4 separate regions of the Homo sapiens genome follow, and all the other regions are linked to region 1. The links are contacts of gene promoters, found by promoter capture Hi-C in human tissues and cell types (Jung and others, 2019). All regions are on one chromosome and are shown on one strand. The core of a region is centred on a gene start or on the middle of the fragment in contact, and the rest is flanking DNA. Distances in the headings are between cores, read along the strand shown. Region 1 holds the start of CNTN5 (contactin 5). Region 2 has its middle 120 kb from the start of LINC02713. Region 3 overlaps CNTN5 (contactin 5). Region 4 overlaps CNTN5 (contactin 5).

What was found. The method cuts DNA at HindIII sites, captures the fragments that hold promoters and counts their contacts. A contact is called where the count stands out against the background at its distance.
Region 2: a fragment that was not itself captured here is called in contact with the fragment with the promoter of CNTN5 in region 1 in 1 of the 25 tissues and cell types used here (hippocampus).
Region 3: a contact is called between a fragment that was not itself captured here and the fragment with the promoter of CNTN5 in region 1, in 1 of the 25 tissues and cell types used here (mesendoderm cells).
Region 4: a fragment that was not itself captured here is called in contact with the fragment with the promoter of CNTN5 in region 1 in 1 of the 25 tissues and cell types used here (H1 embryonic stem cells).

The regions. Positions count from the first base shown.
Region 1 is chr11:99,019,250-99,022,589 of GRCh38, forward strand. It overlaps CNTN5 (contactin 5), which reads left to right and starts at 1,700. Exons shown (of 25, transcript NM_014361.4): 1 at 1,700-2,021. The HindIII fragment of the contact is 4,883 bases long and covers 1-3,340 here.
Region 2 is chr11:98,078,660-98,081,999 of GRCh38, forward strand. No RefSeq gene overlaps it. Among named protein-coding and RNA genes, the nearest start is that of LINC02713, 120 kb to the left of the region's middle. RefSeq lists an enhancer at 1,883-2,452. The HindIII fragment of the contact is 3,488 bases long and covers 1-3,340 here.
Region 3 is chr11:99,690,603-99,693,942 of GRCh38, forward strand. All of the region lies in intron 3 of CNTN5 (contactin 5), which reads left to right. Among named protein-coding and RNA genes, the nearest start is that of CNTN5, 670 kb to the left of the region's middle. The HindIII fragment of the contact is 5,448 bases long and covers 1-3,340 here.
Region 4 is chr11:99,674,141-99,677,480 of GRCh38, forward strand. The region is part of intron 3 of CNTN5 (contactin 5); the gene reads left to right. Among named protein-coding and RNA genes, the nearest start is that of CNTN5, 650 kb to the left of the region's middle. The HindIII fragment of the contact is 3,356 bases long and covers 1-3,253 here.

The DNA.
Region 1 (3,340 bases), core at 450-2,949:
GTTCTAAGAAGGGAAGAGAACTTTCAGAAAGCTTTCTACACTCCCGATCCCTCTTTCAGGCTGCATGTGCTCAATTATACACTTTTAAAGGCAAAAACCTCATCGAACAATAAAAAGAATGCGTTAGAGCTCCTACACTTTGAATTTATTTTGTGATGTATTTAATGTGGTTATAAAAGTCCTGGTAGTTCTCTCTGTGAACCGACAGCCTGACAGAGGAGAAGAGCCAGTGGGGCAGAGAAAAAGCCACAGAAGGGGAATCTCCACAACGATCCCTCAGTTAACACATAAAGAAGATAACCTAGTTACTGGAAAGCAGGAACACGAATATAAAAAGTATGGAAGAGTGGAGAAGTATTAAATGCACACAAATTTGTCTTTGCTACAGAACAAGCAATCAGCCTAGATCCTGAGGATAGCGATTAAAAGCAGAGACTGGGTGTTTGTACATCATTGGATGAATGAGAAGCAGCCAAGAAACAGGAAAAGACTAATTTTAATTACCAGAAAAACTGCAAGAGAAAGAACACAGGGCTAGTGGTAGACGGCTTCCAGCTACAGGCTGCCTGGCACTGTACTCTCCTTGCCAATTAGAGCCAGTCAGACCCCATCGGGGGATTCAGTGAGCAGAAGAATCAGCGTCAGTCCAGGGTCAGGCTGCTCTCAAACACACATGAAAAACGGACACCAGCGGACACGGGGTGCGACCCTAGACTCCCATGCAGTTTCTTATACAGACACAGAGATAGAAAGCAGTACGTGGGATTTCCTTTCCATTAAATACAGGTGCAAACCACATTCTCTATGGAAATATATTGCAAAGGAAATGTTATATAATTTATTTAACAAATACCCAATTACCATCAGCCCAATCGTGGGAATTGGAAAACGACTCAAAGACTGAGAGGAAAAAAAAAAAAAAAGTAGAGAGGAGGACTGGCAGAACAATGGCACTAAAGCTGCCACACTGTGGATTTACTACCTGTGTTATTTTTCCAATTACAGCCATTGTAATATAAAAATTCCGAAAAAAAGGTTGCTGAGACCATTCCTTCGCTTTTTTTTAGAACTGAGTCAACACCCCAAATCAAAGAGAAATATAAACAGGCAGAGCCTGATAGTCCTTAGATGAAACGCGTAAGTGCAGAAACAAAAGAGAAGTGCTTCCCATTCAGGACTTAAGAAAATTCTGCAAAGTGAAAAAGTCCACTCTCAAACCGACCTAAGTGAACGCGTCAGTCTGTGCTGCTGCTGTCAGAGGTGTGAGCCGGGGACTACAGGAATCAGAGTGAAGACAGGAGCGGAGGAAGGGACTCTCGCCTGGATCTCCCGTGCCGACTCCAGCCAGCACGTTTGCTTTGTAATCTATGAATGTTAAATACGGAGGGGTTGCAGAGCAGAAACGCTCGGGGAAGGGGGGCAGGTCCTCTGTACTTAGCAGGGAAGGAAAATGCCGGTTGACTAGTGAGACGAGTGGAGAAACACAGAGCACCCTCCGGGAGGCGCACAGTTCGTTAAGCCCAGGGACATGCTCAATGAACCTTTGCAGCAAGAGGCAGTGAGGCGCTGGACGCGGGCGCCGGTGACAGCGCGGGCGGCCGGGGAGGGGCGAGGGGCCGCCCCGGGAGGACACAGCCAGTCAGAGGCGCGGGGCGCAGGGCGCGCGGACGCATTGGAGGAAAACACGCGAGCCCCAAACACACCAGCCGCAGGAGGCGCCGCACCTACTTCCCAATATAACCAACTACGGCGTGGGGGAGCGGAACTGCGAGAAGGCGGCAGCCAAAGTGCCATTAAAGCTCGGGGCGGAGAGGATGCGTTACCTGGGTCCCGTCTGCTGCGAGAGGCAGGGCAAGCTGGAGGATTCCCTCTGAATGATTAAGAACTCCGCAATTCGCCTCTGCCACAGGCTGCAAAGGACCCGAGGAACCGCTCTCTCTGAACTGTGCTGATGGGCAGGAGGATGGGAGACAGGAATTGAGAGTCACAGAGGAAGGACAGTGGAGTCTGGCATCTTATTGGTAAGTGGCTGACATTCCTTTGCCAGTGACTGCGTTCTGTGATTGTGCACTTCATCTCCCAGCCACTTAGGATTTTTGACACACTCTGTTCTGCAAAGCCATCCTTTCTTGCCATGTTGCCAGAATGTAAAAACTGTAAGATGAAGCTTTTTTAAATAAAGGAAACAAAACACGACTTTATTTCCTGCTGGGATTTTATGGCAAAAAGTTGAAACAAGAGTAAATATAACCTATTTGTATATCTCCTAATGCCACCCAAAATAAGAGTAAGCAATTCCTACACGCAAATTGCAAATTGTAAGGCAATAAATGCCAGGATAAAGTGAGGATGTTTCTACAAAAGAAACTAAATGTTTGGAAAATAGGATGCCGTTCTCAGGTACTGAATGTATGCCTTATGTTTGAGCAATGAGTTTCCGAGACTAAATAATTGGGCATCTGGCATTGCAATAACTTGTTAAAATTCAGTAGGGATGCTCTATAAGTGGAGTTCTACAAAGTTCGTGAGACTGAGAAAAACTGTATCTTGGATTATGCTGAGCTTTTTTCTAAAGGTTGTATAGGATTGTGATAGATTAAAAAATTATGTTCAGACATCCTTACCATGTTTTGTAGGGAGATATACGGAAGAGAATATCAATTTGCACATACACAAACCTGAGAATTACTCTGATGACCTGAACAATAAGTTGTTTCAACTATATTTATTTGCGAAAGAACCAGAATCCACTAAATATTTTAGAATTATATTACTTTTAAATCTTAGAACTGTTCTCCCAAGAAAAATACAATTTCATGTGGTAATTTAAATGCAGGTGAGAAGCAAAAAACTTTTAAACTGTTGTATGTTCAATGCCTTACCTACATTTCATTCATTTGTTTCTTAATTTAAAAGAGAAAATCATTTAGAGGGTCAATACTTCTACTTTGATTCTCAATTACGACTGTGGAAATAAGGATGAAAGAAGTAGATGTTCATTAGAATACTAGCATTTAAAATTATAGACAAATAGTCAAATTTAAAAATTAATGCAGATATCATCGATTACTGTTGAATTGCAACAGAATTACAGAAGTACTTATGACCATTACAGGGAGCTTAAAGGAGTTCATTATGATTAATATTGTGACTCTCAGTATTTTAAAAAATAATGATTAGGTCATTAACTGTTTTTGAAAATGCCTGTAGTCAATTTTGAGCAATTCTCATGGTTGCTTGCATATTCTCCTATTTCATGCTCAAATTATTCTAAGTTAAGTGGGGACTAGTATGCTGAGTCTTAAACTTAACAGGCATAAGTTTACTCTGACTCTAATCG
Region 2 (3,340 bases), core at 443-2,942, 940 kb before region 1:
ATATTTTCTTACTTTAGAAACTAGGAACTAAAACCTAGAGACAACAGATATCATATCTACGAAGGTCAGAGGGGTATATTCATTTTATTAAAAGATAAGATTTAAGAATCATACTTTGAAATAAATTTAACACGTATTTCCTAATTTGTAGATTGCTTATTAAAGGGATCATTTGTGAAAATTAGATAAATAAATGTATAAAAGCTATGAGTGCTTACAATCTGTAAAGAGAATACTATTTTAATTTATAGAATTGACTATAATATTTAGAAGTATCTGTGTTACTATAAATAATTAGTTTAAAAATCAGACATGATATAATATGAATAGTTATTCATGCATTTAAAAGACTGGTTTAGGGCTGGGCTCAGTGGCTTATGCCTGCAATCCCAGCACTTTGCTAGGGAAAGATGGGAGGATGGCTGGAGCCCAGCAATTTGAGACCAGTCTGGGAAAACCATAGTGAGACTCTGTCTCTACAAAAAAATTAAAAAATAAGCCAAGCATGGTGGTGTGTGCCCATAGTCCCAGCCACTTGGGAGGCTGAGATAGGAAGAGACCTTGAGACCATGAGACCAGGGCTTCAGAGCCATTATTGTACTCCTGCACTCCAGCCTGAGTGACAGGGAGAGAAAGCCCCTGTTTCAAAAAAATGAAAAGTAAAAAAATAAAAATAAAAGACTAAATTAGTTGCTTAATTACTTTCAGCTTCTGTTTCTAGTTTGCAAATTTGAGTTAAAAACACCAAAATTATAGGATCATTGTGAGAACTAAAAGTGGACTATAAGGTATCAGTAATTTACAAAAGTGATTGCTATTTATATAGTGCCTTCACCAATCTAGATCAATTGGCTAAGTACTAAGTACAATCATGCTACAAAAAAAAAATGACAACAAAAACCTTGATATAGTTTTTATTTTAAAAATTGCTTTACTTTTTATATTGCCTTGTTCTTTTTCACACTGGACAGTGCCAGAGACATGAAGCTGCACTGTATGGTCCATTAGCCCATTCAAGAAGATCCTGTTTCATTTCCAGATATGCTTTATGATATGTCATACTAATATCTCTTGAGTTTCACATTCCTTTTTTTCCTGTGGCTTTCTAGACCCATAAAATAGAAACACATTTTAAAATCAAATGATATTATTTTAAAATAGTTTAGTATCTGATATGGTTTGGATCTGTGTCCCCACCCAAATCTCCTGCTGAAATGTAATCCCCAGTGCTGGAGGTGAGGCCTGGTGGGAGGTGATTGAATCATGGGAAAGTTTCTAATAGTTTAACACCATCCCCCTAGTACTGTTCTTGTGTTGGAGTTCTTGTGAGATCTGGTTGTTTAAAAATGTGTGGCACCTCTCCCTGCTCCTTCCTCCTGCTCTGGCCATGTAAGATGTGCCTGCCTCTCTTTCAACTTTTTCCAAGATTGTAAGTTTCCTAAGGCCTCTCCCAAAGCCAAGCACATGCTGCCATGCTTTCTGTAGAGTCTGCGGAACTGTGAGCCAATTAAACCTCTTTTCCTTATAAATTACCCAGTCTTAGGTAGTTCTTTATAGCAATGCAAGAACTGACTAATACAGAAAATTGGTACCAAGAAGTAGAGCATTCCTATAAAGATACTTGAAAATATGGAAGCAACTTTGGAACTGGGTAATGAGCAGAAGTTTGAAGAGTATGGAGGGCTCAGAAGAAGACAGGAAAATGAGAGAAAGTTTGGAACTTCCTTGAGATCTGTTAAATTGTTGTGACCAAAATGCTGGTAGTGTTTTTGACAGTGAAGTTCAGCCTGAGGACGTCTCTGATGGAGATGAAGAATTTGTTGGGAACTGGAGTGAAGGTCACTTTTGTTATGTGTTAGCAAAGAGGTTGGCAGCATTGTGCCTCTACTCTAGGGACCTATGGAACTTTAAACTTGAGAGTGATGAATTAGGGCATCTGATGGAAGAAATATCTAAGCAGCACAGCATTCAGTATGTGGACCAACTGCTTCTAAAAGCTTATCTTATATGCATTAGCAAAGAAATGACCTGAAACTGGAACTTATATTTAAAAGGAAAGCAGAGAGTAAAAGTTTGAAAAATTTGCAGTCCAACACTGTGATAGAAAATAAAAGCCCATTTTCCAGGAGCAATTCAAGTCAGCTGCAGAAATTTGCATAACTAAAAGGAAAGCAAGTGCTGATAGGCAAGACAATAAGGAAGAGGCCTGGAGGGCATTTCAGAGACTTCTGAGGCAGCCCTTCCCATCACAGGCCTGGAGACATAGGAGGAAAGAATGGTTTTGGGGGCCAGGACGATGACCCCACAGCCCTGTGCAGCCTTGGTATGCTGATTCTCACATCCCAATCACTCCAGTTCTAGCCATGGTTCAAAGGGACCCGTGTACTGCTTGGGCCACTGCTTCAGAGGGTACAAGCTGTAAGCCTTGGTGGCTTCCACATGGTGTTAAGTTTGTGGGTACACAGAGTGTAAGAGTTGAGGTTAGGGAGCCTCCACCTAGATTTCAGAGGATGTATGGAAAAGCTTGGATGTTCAGGCAGAAGCCTGATACAGCACAGAGCCCTCATGGAGAACCTCAACTAGGGAAGTGTGGAGGGGAAATGTGGGGTTGGAATCCCCACACAGAGTCCCAACTGGAGCACTGCGTGATGGAGGTGTGAGAAGAGGGCCACCATCCTCCACACCCTGGAATTGTAAGTCCACCAACACGCTTGCACTGTGTACTTGGAAAAGCTGTAAGCACTCAATGCCAGCCCTTGAGAGAAGCCATAAAGGCACAGCTGCCCAAGGCCTTGGGAGCCAACCCTTTGCATCAGTGTGCTCTAGTTGTGAGATATGGAATCAAATAAGATTATTTTCGAGCTTTAAGATTGCATGACTGCTCTGCTGGGTTTTGGACTTGCATGAGTCATGTAGCCCCCCTTTTTGTGGCTGACTGCTTCATTTTGGAATGGGAGTATTTACCCAGTGCCTGTACCCCCATTGTATCTTGGAAGTAACTAACTTGTTTTTTATTTTACAGGCTCAGAGGTAGAAGAAGCTTGCCTTGTCTTAGATGAGACTTTGGATTGTGGACTTTTGAGTTAATGCTAGACTGAGTTAAGACTTTCAGGGACTGTTTGGAAGGCAGGATTTTATATTGCAAGGTGTAAAGGACGTGGGATTTGGGAGGGGCCAGGAGCAGAATAATATGATTTGGATTTGTGCCCCTTTCCAAATTTCATGTTGAAATGTGATCCTGAAAGCTGGAGGTGGGGCCTGGTGGGAGGTGATTTCTAATGGGGGTGGTTTCTAATGGTTTAGCACCATTGCCCTAGTGCTGAGGTCTGGTTGTTTAAAA
Region 3 (3,340 bases), core at 434-2,933, 670 kb after region 1:
TCATGGAATGTTTTTCTACTTGTTTGTGTCATCTCTAATTTCTCTGAGCAAGCAGTCATTTGTAGTTCTCCTTGAAGAGGTCCTTCACATCCCTCGTTAGCTGTATTCATAGGTATTTTATTCTTTTATGTCTCTGCCAGGTTTGGATATTAGGATGATGATGGCCTCATAGAACGAGTTAGGGAGGATTCCTTCCTTCTCAATTTTTTTGGAATAGTTTCAGTAGAAATGATAACAACTCTTTTTTGTACATCTGGTACAATTCAGCTCTCAGCCTGTCTGGTCTTGGGATTTTTTTGGTTGGTAGGCAATTTATTACCACCTTAATTTCAGAACTCATTTTGGTCTACTCAGGGATTTAGTTTCTTTCTTGTCCAGTCTTGGGAGGGTGTATGTATCTAGTAATTTATTCTTTTCTTCTAGATTTTCTTGTTACTTACATAAAAGTGTTTATAATAGTCTCTGATGACTTTTGGTATTTCTGTGAGGTCAGTAGTAATATGGCCATTATTGTTTCTGATTGTGTTTATATGAATCTTCTCTTCTTCTTTATTAGTCTAGCTTGCAGTCTATCTTAATTTTTTCAAAAAAAAAACCAGCACCTGGATTTGTTGGTTTTTTTGAAGAGTGTTTATGTCTCTGTCTTCTTTAACTCAGCTCTGATCTTTATTTCTTGTCTTCTGCTAGCTTTGGGGTTTCTTTGCTCTTGGTTCTCTAGTTTGTTTAGTTGTGATGTTAGGTTGTTAACTTGAGATCTTTCTAGCTTTTTAATGTGGGCTTTTATTGCAGTAAATTTCCCTCTTAACACTGTGGTAGCTGTGTCCCAGAGTTTCTGATGCATTGTATCTTTGTTTTTTATTATTTTCAAATAACTTCCTGATTTGTGCCTTAATATTGTTATTTACCCAAAAGTCATTCAGGAGCAGGTTGTTTGATTTTCATGTAGTTGTATAATTTTGAGTGAATTTCTTAATCTTGAGTTCTAATTTGATTGCACTGTGGTCTAAGCAACTGTTTGTTATGATTTCAGTTCTTTTGCATTTTCTGAGGAGTCTTTTACTTCTGAATATGTGAACAGTTTTTTTAGTAAGTGCCATGTGGTGATGAGAAGAATGTATATTCTGTTCTTGGGTGCAGAGTTTGTAGATATCTGTCGGATCCACTTGATCCAGAGCTGAGTTCAGGTCCTGAATAGTTTTGTAAATTTTCTGTCTCGATGATCTGTCTGATATTGGCAGTGGTGTGTTAGTCTCCCACTATTATTGTGTGGGAGTCTAAGTCTCTTTGAAGGTCTCTAATAATTTGCTTTATGAATCTGGGTGCTCCTGTATTGGGTGCATATATATTTAGGATAGTTAGTTCTTGTTGAATTGAACCCTTTACCATTTGTAATGCCCTTCTTTGTCTTTTCTGATCTTTCTTGGTTTAGTGTCTGTATTGTCAGAAACTAGAATTGCAACCCCTGCTTTTTTAGGTTTTCCATTTGCTTGGTAAATTTTCCTCTTTCTCTTTATTTTCGGCCTATGTGTGTCTTTGCATGTGAGATAGGTCTCTTGAAGACAGCATATGAATGGTTCGTGGTTCTTTATCCAACGTGCCACTCTGTGTCTTTTAATTGGGGCATTTAGCCCATTTACATTCAAGGTTATTGTTATGTGTGGATTTGATTCTGTCATCATGATGCTAGCTGGCTAGTTTACAGACTTGTTTATGTAGTTGCTTCATAGTGTCACTGTTCTATGTATTTCAGTGTGTTTTTGTAGTGGCTGGTAATGGTTTTTCTTTTCCGTGTTTAGTGCTTCCTTAGGAGCACTTGTAACACCGGTCTGGTGGTGACAGTTTCCCGCAGCATTTGTGAAAAAGGACTTTATTTCTCCTTCACTTACAAAGCTTGGTTTTGCAAGATATGATATTCAGGGTTGAAATTTCTTTTCTTTAATAATATTGAATATTTGCCCTCAATCTCTTCTGGTTTGTAAGGTTTCCACTGAGAGGTCCACTGTTAATCTGTTGGGCTTCCCTTTTTTCATGACCTGACCTCTTTCTCTCTGGCATCCCTCAATATTTTTTCTTTTATTCCATCAGTGAAATGTTTTTATAGTCAAATAATTTTGCAAAACATTTTTTTCATAATTCACAAAACAAATGCGTATTTTAAGTGTTCCTATAGTAAAGGAGAATCCTTTAATCTGATATGACACCAATTTTGATTGACTATAGTATACCCTAAACTCATTTTTATTCCAAAAAATTTATTGATATCATTAGAATAGTACACATTTGTGGGACACTTAAGTTTGTAATTATAATAGCTGGGAGAAAGGGTTACAGCCAATAAATCCTGATTGTGGAATCAAGACAGCTTCACAGAGTTGGTGATTGGGCGTGGAAGAATGAAAGCAATATTTAAATAGGTTAATCTAAAACAGGAAGTACATATAAAAATTTGAAGAAAAAATTTTCAAGCTGTAAAAATTACATAAGCAAGCAGTTGAAACATTTCTGCAATAAGATGTAAATATGTACTTCTAGCTATTTTTGAAAGTAATGTAGTCTTCAAAGAAAAACATTAAAAACTGAGTACATGTGTGTTTTCAGTACCTGTGTGCACAGCACAGAAAATACAAATATATTTAAGGCTCATTTTTGGCATCAGAGAGGAAATAATAGTCTTTAAATAATATTACTACAATGGAATTATAGCTAAATTATTCCAATTAAAAAATTCCTTTCTGTATGGAGCTTAGAGTTTGTTTTTAAAACAAACAATTATAGAAATAAATGTGAAATTATGATACATAGTACAAAAGAAGTTACAACCTGTGATGATTGTAAGGGTTTTAAAGGAGGAGGTATTTGAATTGAGGGGTTGAAGGATGAGAAGCTGATGAGGTAAAGGTTATGAAATGAGGCATGACAAGCAGAGGGCACACAGGCCCAGTGGACCGTGAAACATGGGGTCTTCAAGGGTGGATAGAGTAATGGACAGTAGAGCTGGGACAATAGAGGATAGTGAGAGACATGGAGTCTCTGCAAACATAATACCCAAATTGAGTAGTTGACAAGAAAAACAAATTTTATTTCTGAAATAGAAATACCAATATGTCAGTGGGATTTTGACAGACGAGATTGTTTCTTTGATTTATAATAATGTGACGTGTATGTTTTTAGAATGGATAAAAATTGACAACATGAAAGTTCAGCTTAACTCAACAAGTATTCATTGAATCAGGTTCCAAAGGTAGGTAAATGAATATGATACATTCCCTATTGATGAAGGAGATAGAAACATAAATATGTGCATGTATCTAAGATGCCTAAAAGGCCTTTTGAGTGAGAG
Region 4 (3,340 bases), core at 326-2,825, 650 kb after region 1:
ATAGCCATTCTAACTGATGTGAGATGGCATCTCATTGTGGTTTTGATTTGCATTTCTCTAATCATCAGTGATATTGAGCATTTTTTTCCTGTGATTGCTGGCTGCATATATGCCTTCTTTTGAGAAGCAATTGTTTAAGCCCTTGGCCCACCTTTTGATGGTTTTTTTTTCTTGTAAACATGTTTAGGTTCCTTATAGATGCTCGATTTTAGACCTTTGTCAGATGAGAAGTTTGCAAAATTTTTCTCCCGTTATGTAGGTTGCCTGTTCACTCTGTTGATAGTTTCTTTTGCTTTGAAGAAGCTCTTTGCTTTAGTTAGATCTATGTGGGCATTTCTTCTGTTTGTTTTTTATTTTGTTGGTTGCTTGTCACTCCCCATGTTTGCCCTGCTCCCAAGATCTACTAACTCTTCACACAGAACCTCTGGTTGCCTTTGTGAAAGCTGCAAATACCAGGATGCAATCACTCTTGTCAGACCCAAACGAATTGCAGCTGAAAAAGCACAAAGTAGAGGAACTCATGCTTACATGTCTGAGACAAGGATTGTCTCGAGGCTTTTCTAAAATAACCCCACAAAAAATCCCTTCTTTAGGACTGCAGCAATTCAGATAAGATGCTTTCTAAAGAACACTTGCCTAATAACACCATCTTCTCCAGTGAATTGACAGCAACCTTAGCTTTGAACCTCTGAAACCAATGAATTCTGTTTCCAAGAAGCTTATATAAACTTCCCCTTTTTGCCCTTGCTCTGAGCTTTCTCTTACCCTTCCATCTTTGGGTAGATCTGTGGCTTGCCATGGATGTGCATACTGGATTATGATCCTTCTTGATTATTCCCAAATAAATTCATTATATTAGGAGGCATTTTTCTGGTTTTGTTTTGTTTTGTTTTGTTTTGTTTTGTTTCAGGCTGACACTAGGGATGCCTCTTCAGTGTCCTTTGCTCAGAGCAAATCACTCTATTGTTCATCCTACTAACTAATTGTTGGAGTAAACATTGCTTCATGTCCTAAATTTCTCTGAATAATTATTGACTAACTAGTGCTAAATGAGTACAATCTAGTAGGATAGTCACTTTAATAGAGAGTAAACCCATAACTCCAAGTTGAAATCTCGCCCATCAGTACTGGGTGAGGGAATGGATTTTTGTAGATTTCTGAGAATTTTTAAATCCCAGCACTAAAGAAGTCATCTGTGGGAGGGGCCCAGTGTTATCCTAAGGTTATAGATAGATTTTGGTAAAAGAGTAAAAAAATGCAGGCTGGGTGCGGTGGCTCACACCTGTAATCCTAGCACTTTGGGAGGCCGAGGAGGGCAGATTGCCTGAGCTCGGCAGTTCGAGACCAGCCTGGGCAACATGGTGAAACCCTGTTTCTGCTAAAATATAAAAGATATTAGCTGGGCATGGTGGTGGGCACCTGTAATCCCAGCCACTTGGGAGGCTGAGGTAGGAGAGTTGCTTTAACCTGGGAGGTGGAGGTTGCAGTGAGCTGAGATTGTGCCCCACTGCCCTCCAGCCTGTCGACAGAGCAAAACTCTGTCTCAAATAAAAAATTAAAATAGAAACAGATAAATCTAAATGGAAATTCTTTAAAATTCAAGTGTTTTATATTAATGGGAGGAAAACGAGAGAAGGCACATAGCCCCTGCAGTTGTTATATGGGTACTAAATTGTGACTCTGTCAACAAGTAGTTGTGTTACCTTAGTATATCATTTCATTTCCTTGCAAAAAGGAAACAATTGTATCTGACTTGTTACTCTCTAGAGCTGTGTAATATTAGATAATATGTGAGAAAATACTTTGAAAAATACAAAATTCTCTATAGATATTATGATTTTCACTACCATCATCTCAGAACTCTGAGAGTGTTTGTAGATGCCACTCTTGTCTCATTTCTGCCTTCCAGCGATGTTGTAATTTTCGAATGGGATAATATGTAAAACTATGAAGTGTCCAACATGTAATAAATAGTTAATTATTACTTGCTATTCATATTGTGATTTATAATTATTGATTTTATTACATAATTTTCATGCTAGACCATGAGTTCTTATTACTCTGTTTTACTCAGCCCTGCACCACTGGTGCTCAGAATATCTTAAAGATTTAATATATGATTGTTGAATTAATTGGCTAGTTATTGTTAATTACATCAATACCATAGACTACAACATAAAAACGAAAACATTAAGTATCACAGTGGAGCAATAGAGAAGGTAAAAATTCAGAAGCCACCTGGTGATAAAAAGCTAAAACTAACACAGAAATAAATAGACTACATGCTTTTTGTCACATTATGGGATTTTTCCAAGAAATACATTTCTTTCTCATAGGCCCCTCACCAGGCCTCTGCAGTCACTGCATGGTGTTCTGGCACATGTGAAAAGCCTGCTGCAATAAAATTTCAAGGGCTTCTGCCTATAAAATTTTATATACTGCAGACTTTGAATCTGCATTACTTTGCAGAAACAATGGATTTTCGTTTCATAATTTGGTAGTCGTTAAGAAAAAAGAACTTAAGAAAAACATATGTAACAAACCTGCACGTTGTGCCCATATACCCTAGAACTTAAAGTATAATTAAAAAAAAATTAGTAAGTTCTTTAACTTGCCACTGTGGAAAAATAAATCTATACAACAAAGTATGAAACACAAATCATTACAAAGGAAAATTTATTACTGAAATAAAAGTGTGATAAATTAAGGAATTCTGCAGTATATAAAATCTTAAGGCCCTCGGATCTTCTTGTATGCTAATCACACTGCTTAAAGCTTTCCCCTAACATGCAAGGGTGTTGCTAGGTTATTAAAATATGTATATGACATGTTTGACTACACTTTTAGAAACTCAAACTCATTATCAAGCTAAAAATGTTGTTATATTTCTATCTCCTACTCAATAACTATTTTTAAAATAAAAACGTTCTAAATCTCAGCAAAATAAGATTTTTGTGAGATAAAAGTATGTTTTCTGATGTTACACAACAATAATTGATACTAATCCACCAGAAGTACTAGGCAAAAATTTGCTTATTGAATTCCAAAATGAATTATGTTTTATTGGCCGTCGCTCAGACAGGAGAAAATAATGTATCTTGTTTTCTCTAATTATCTTCTCTGTTTAACTTATCTCAGAGACCTAAAAGCTACCAATGGTGAATGCCTTTACATGTTCATGGGAGCTGTTTTTATTATAGCCATCTGAGATAATGTTTGTCCTTGTCCTTCTGATCCAAAGGACAAGAATGTAACTAACAATGGAACATTTTCTACCACATGAGCAGTTTGAGGATGTTGATTTCTGAACCAGCCGGTCAAGTTTACAGCATTTATCTCT